Regions from separate parts of the Homo sapiens genome. Here region 1 is linked to region 2. Evidence: promoter capture Hi-C in human tissues and cell types (Jung and others, 2019). All regions are on one chromosome and are shown on one strand. The core of a region is centred on a gene start or on the middle of the fragment in contact, and the rest is flanking DNA. Distances in the headings are between cores, read along the strand shown. Region 1 overlaps TUBA1C (tubulin alpha 1c). Region 2 holds the start of BCDIN3D (BCDIN3 domain containing RNA methyltransferase).

What was found. The method cuts DNA at HindIII sites, captures the fragments that hold promoters and counts their contacts. A contact is called where the count stands out against the background at its distance.
Region 1: a contact is called between a fragment that was not itself captured here and the fragment with the promoter of BCDIN3D in region 2, in 1 of the 25 tissues and cell types used here (dorsolateral prefrontal cortex).

The regions. Positions count from the first base shown.
Region 1 is chr12:49,271,599-49,274,558 of GRCh38, forward strand. It overlaps TUBA1C (tubulin alpha 1c), which reads left to right. Exons shown (of 4, transcript NM_032704.5): 4 at 655-2,960. The coding sequence ends at 1,629. Among named protein-coding and RNA genes, the nearest start is that of TUBA1C, 8.0 kb to the left of the region's middle. RefSeq lists a silencer at 2,388-2,682. The HindIII fragment of the contact is 6,713 bases long and covers 1-2,960 here.
Region 2 is chr12:49,841,626-49,844,461 of GRCh38, forward strand. It overlaps BCDIN3D (BCDIN3 domain containing RNA methyltransferase), which reads right to left and starts at 1,481. Exons shown (of 2, transcript NM_181708.3): 1 at 1,229-1,481. The coding sequence starts at 1,462. RefSeq lists enhancers at 824-1,193, 1,764-1,823. The HindIII fragment of the contact is 12,873 bases long and covers 1-2,836 here.

The DNA of each region.
Region 1 (2,960 bases), core at 252-2,751, 570 kb before region 2:
TAAGGAACTGGTACAGCCGGATCCTGACACAGCCTGACTCCAGTACCAGGGTGTTAGAACTTTGGCTATTCTGTTGTTCCACCTCAGAAAGCAGCTGCCAAATCTTTACAAGACATCCACTGTACCAGGCTGGTGGTCCTGGGCCTGCCCCTTAGGACCTCTCCAACTAAGAAACTGCCCTGTTCTGTGGCCACAGCAAGAGAACCAGAGGCTGCCTTCCCAGTTACCAAAACTTGAGCCCTGTATGCAAGCCCAGGCCTTGTGATTCCTCTGCCTAAGGCAATAGTTCATCTTAAAATAGTCTTAGCAAAGGTTTTTCTGCTCAAGGACTTGATTGTGAAAAGTTGTTCTGAATCACTTAGCACTTAAAAGCTTTTTTTTTTTTTTGGAGACAGGGTCTGCTCTGTCATCCAGGCTGGAGTGCAGTGGCCTGATCATCAGTCTTGAACCCCTGGGCTCAAATGCAAATGGTCCTCCCACCTTGGACCCCCAAAGTGTTGATTACAGGCGTGAGCCACTGCGCCTGGCCCAGAAGAGTTTTAAAATTGCAATTGGAGTAGCCATAGATTTATAGAAGTCCTCTGTAGGTTTCACCAAATGTGAACACTAAATGAAACTTTCGCAACACTAAAATGAAACTTTTTTATTTTGCAGGCTGACCAGTGCACCGGTCTTCAGGGCTTCTTGGTTTTCCACAGCTTTGGTGGGGGAACTGGTTCTGGGTTCACCTCGCTGCTCATGGAACGTCTCTCAGTTGATTATGGCAAGAAGTCCAAGCTGGAGTTCTCCATTTACCCGGCGCCCCAGGTTTCCACAGCTGTAGTTGAGCCCTACAACTCCATCCTCACCACCCACACCACCCTGGAGCACTCTGATTGTGCCTTCATGGTAGACAATGAGGCCATCTATGACATCTGTCGTAGAAACCTCGATATCGAGCGCCCAACCTACACTAACCTTAACCGCCTTATTAGCCAGATTGTGTCCTCCATCACTGCTTCCCTGAGATTTGATGGAGCCCTGAATGTTGACCTGACAGAATTCCAGACCAACCTGGTGCCCTACCCCCGCATCCACTTCCCTCTGGCCACATATGCCCCTGTCATCTCTGCTGAGAAAGCCTACCACGAACAGCTTACTGTAGCAGAGATCACCAATGCTTGCTTTGAGCCAGCCAACCAGATGGTGAAATGTGACCCTCGCCATGGTAAATACATGGCTTGCTGCCTGTTATACCGTGGTGACGTGGTTCCCAAAGATGTCAATGCTGCCATTGCCACCATCAAAACCAAGCGTACCATCCAGTTTGTGGATTGGTGCCCCACTGGCTTCAAGGTTGGCATTAATTACCAGCCTCCCACTGTGGTGCCTGGCGGAGACCTGGCCAAGGTACAGAGAGCTGTGTGCATGCTGAGCAATACCACAGCTGTTGCCGAGGCCTGGGCTCGCCTGGACCACAAGTTTGACCTGATGTATGCCAAGCGTGCCTTTGTTCACTGGTACGTGGGTGAGGGGATGGAGGAAGGCGAGTTTTCAGAGGCCCGTGAGGACATGGCTGCCCTTGAGAAGGATTATGAGGAGGTTGGAGCAGATAGTGCTGACGGAGAGGATGAGGGTGAAGAGTATTAACCTGTGTGCTGTACTTTTACACTCCTTTGTCTTGGAACTGTCTTATTTTTGTTCTGTAAATGTCTATTGCCGTAAATTGTTAATAAAATTGAAGTTTCCATTTTAAATGTCGAGCTGACTTAAATACTTGATCCAGTTAAAGTTGGATGTATGAGGCTGGTAGATGAAACCACCTGAGTCGAGGGTCTTGCTCTGTCACCCAGGCTGGAGTGCAGTGGCATGATAATACATAGCTCATTGCAGCCTCGAGCTCCTGGACTCATGTGATTCTCCTGCTTCAGCCTCCTAAGTAGCTGGGGACTGCAGGTGCACACCACCATGCCCAGCTATTTTTATTTCTTGTAGAGATGGGGCCTTGCTATGCTGCCCAGGGTGGTCTTCAACTGGCTTCAAGTGATCCTCCTGCCTCAACCTCTCAAAGTTTTGATTATAGGCATGAGCCACTGCCCAGCTTCTTGGTTTATCTGTTTAATTTGGGCCTGAATTAAGTGGTTATAGAATCATTTTGTAAGTGAGGAAACGGGTTCAGATTGAGCCAGTGCTTCTCTAACTAAAATGGATGTGAATCACCTGTAGATATTAAAATGCAGGTTTGGGGTCAACCTGGTGGCTCATGCACTTCGGGAGGCCAAGTTGGGTGGATCACGAGCCCAGGAATTCGAGACCAGCCTGGGCAACATGGTGAAAACCCATCTCTACCAAAACAAAAATTTGCATGCTGTGATGGCACCTGCCTATAGGTGGGAGGACCACCTGAGCCCAAGGAGGTTGAGGTAGTGAGCCATGATTGCACCACTGCATTCCAGCCTGGGTGACGGAGACCCCTGACTCTCAAATTTAAAAACAAAATGCAGGTTCTAATTCTATAGGCTTGAGGTGAGGCTTCAGACACGTCTTAAATTTTTTTTCTTTGAGATGGTCTCTTTCCCAGGCTGCAGTGCAATGGCACCATCATAGCTCACCCCCACCTTGACCTGGGCTAAGCCATCCTCCCACCTCAGCCTCCCAAGTAGCCAGGACTACAGGTGTGTTCCACCATGCCTGGCTGATTCTTGTAATTTTTTTTTTTTTTTTTTTTTTTTTTTTTGGTAGAGATGGGGTTTTGCCATGTTGCTTAGGCTGGCCTTGAACTCCTGGGCTCAGGCAATCCTGCCTCAGCCTCCCAAAGTGCTGGGATTACAGGAGTGAGCCACTACACCTGGCCCCTAGATACGTTTTTTAATAACCTCCCAAATGATGCTGTTGGTCTGATGTGACCACATGTACAGTAGCAAAGGGTTAGATAACAGTAACTGCTGGAGCCAAAATTCAAGTGCCCAGCCACACTGCCA
Region 2 (2,836 bases), core at 231-2,730:
ACAGCGGAGAAATTTTGCAGGGGACACAGGACATCAACCCATCTCCTCATTCCAGTCTTTGAGACTGTATCCAAATGTCCCCTTCCTACTATCATCTGAGTCCCACAAGGTCTGAAGTCGTCCCCCAAAGTCTCTTCTGTAAAAGGACAGCAACGTAACAGAATTGTCCCCCGCCCTCCAGATGCTGGACTGGAGTGATGGAGGGAGCGCAGAGAGGGTACTAACTTTTGAAGCATTTGCCGTGGTAAGTTCAGACTGCCTGCTAGTGTAGAATATCCCAGTGGCTACAAATAGGTGTGGGAGAGACATTTCCTTATTTTGCATGTGGTTTGATTATAATCATATGCCTAAGAATAGTTTGCAGCAAGAAGAGTGGCAGTGCCGCCCTTCTCCATTCCCTTGGGCAAAATGCTTTATTTGCTTCTCGATCCTCTCCACTGTACTCTGTCAACTCACTGTTTTGTTTTGTTTTTGAGACGGAGTCTCGCTCTGTCGCCCAGGCTGGAGTGCAGTGGCACTAGCTCGGCTCACTGCAAGCTCCGCCTCCCGGGTTCACGCCATTCTCCTGCCTCAGCCTCCGGAGTAGCTGGACTACAGGCGCCCGCCACCACGACCGGCTAATTTTTTGTATTTTTAGTAGAGACGGGGTTTCACCGTGTTAGCCAGGATGGTCTCGATCTCGTGACCTTGTGATCCACCCGCCTCGGCCTCCGAAAGTGCTGGGATTACAGGCGTGAGCCAGCGCGCCCGGCCTACTCACTTTTTTTGAAATAAACATGCAGGTCCCAGGGTCTGTCCTGCACTGTATAGCACACATGAGTCTCAATATCAGGCATGATTCTGTCACCCTTGGCTCTTCTCTCCCAGTAAACCAAACCTAACCCCATGTTCCCAAACGTGTGTCTCTGGAAGCCCCCTCTCCCCAGCCAAAGCGCCAGGCACGCTGGACAGAGGCCACCCTAGATACAAGGACCGTTCCCACCTGGGGTCTGGCCCTGAAAGAAAAGTGGGAACGTAGTCGACAAGGACTCCTCTCCAAGAGAGATTCCTAAGACAGATGGTGGAACCCTGGCGGGCAGGCAGCAGCGGCACTGGCTCAGTCAAAGCCACGCTTTATACTCGTTTTGGGAAAGTTTCGATGGGTGTTAGCCCAGGCCAGAACCACAGTGGATGTGTAGGCAGCCAACCACTTGGCTCCGGATGCTCCAATCCCTCCCCTGTCACTCACCCCGGAGTTACACCCCACGTCGAGCCCCAGAATCGGCCCGTTCTCGGGACTCTCAGGAAAGAGCTGTCGAAGCAGCTCCGGGGGCAGGAGGCGGAGCCGTTGCTCCGGAGGGTGGAAGCGAGAATAATGAGGAAAATTTCCGAACGGGGCGGCGCCAGGTGCCAGAACTCGCGATTCCTCTTCCGCTGCGGTCTCCTTAACACTCCCTCCATCCAGTTCCGTGGGCACCGCCATTAGCCTCAACACAGCCTCTGGGCCGTGGCGGAACCGGAAGCCGGGAACCTGCTGTCGGCGTGGGCGGTGGCGGTGCCAGCGCGCGTGCGTCGAACGGCTAGGGCGGGTGGCTAGAATTCTGCGGTGAATCAGAAAAGCTGTCCTGATTTCCTCTCGCTGTATACCTGGAGCCGGCGAGCGCCTGGGGCTTGCCTTGTATTATTGAACCCTCATCACAACACTGGGAGGGGATTAGCAATATCATCCACGTTTTACAGGGATGAAACAAACTCTGAGGGCTAAGTGTCTTGGCCAAGCTGACATAGTTTGAAACTTGGGCTACTTGACCCAGAACAAGTATACTAGTTTGTTGGGATCTTGGAAATCAATTTTAGTCCAATTTCCTTTCTTTATAAATGCAAAAAGTGAGACCGAGAGAACTTACTTGTCTGGGGTCATACATTGAATCTGTGACTCAAAAACTTCCACCCGGTTCAGGAAAGGGTAGCCAGGAGGTGCAGGTCACTTGCGAAGCCAGCCGACTCAGCCCTGTCCCCCAGGGGCAACTGTAGACCATGAGCTCCTTGAGAGGCAAGGACCGTGCCTTAAGAGCCAGCACTTAAAGAGTGCTTACCAGGCACCAGACACCCTTGTAAGCTCCTTAGTCAATCCTCTCACCCCGTGAGAAAATGACCGTATTATTATTCTTTTTATATAGATGAGGACACTGGAGTAAAACAAAGTAACTTGTCCAAGATCCCACAGTTAGAAATGATGGTACTAGGATTCGAACCCAGGGAGTTTGGATCCAGAGGATGTGCTTGCAACGGTGTGTTATTCTCAGCCTTGAGTCTCCTATACTTAACATGGGCCTGGCACAAAGATGCTCAACAAATGTTGTTGAATGAAAACTCAATAGAGAATACAATAAGGCCAGATCTGTTTGGGGAAACTTTAAATGGAAGGGAGAAAGGATGCCAACTGAAGCAGACATAGTGGAATGGAGTTGGGCAAGATGTGACTCAGAGATTGGAAATAACAGAGCTGATAAGGAGAGGAACTGAAGGGTCAACCTAGGTAGCAGGTTCCAGTCAAAAGCCAGGATGGCCCAGAATATCCGTCAGGGTCAACCAAGCATCAGCAGAGTTGTGCAGGACCCCCAACCCCACCCCTGCACCTGGCCCACCCATCTTAAAGGGGTATCCTGCTCCATGAGGCTGGCAGTTCGGTAAACTTCTTATAAGGCACTGGAGCATGACTCCTGCAAACAGTACCATCAGGAGTTAAAATAAGCGCTGTTTTCCTCTCAGTTTTTACTTTATATTTTCTTTTTCTTTTCTCCTTTTTTTGAGATAGAGTCTCACACTATTGCCTGGGCTGGAGTGCAATGACATG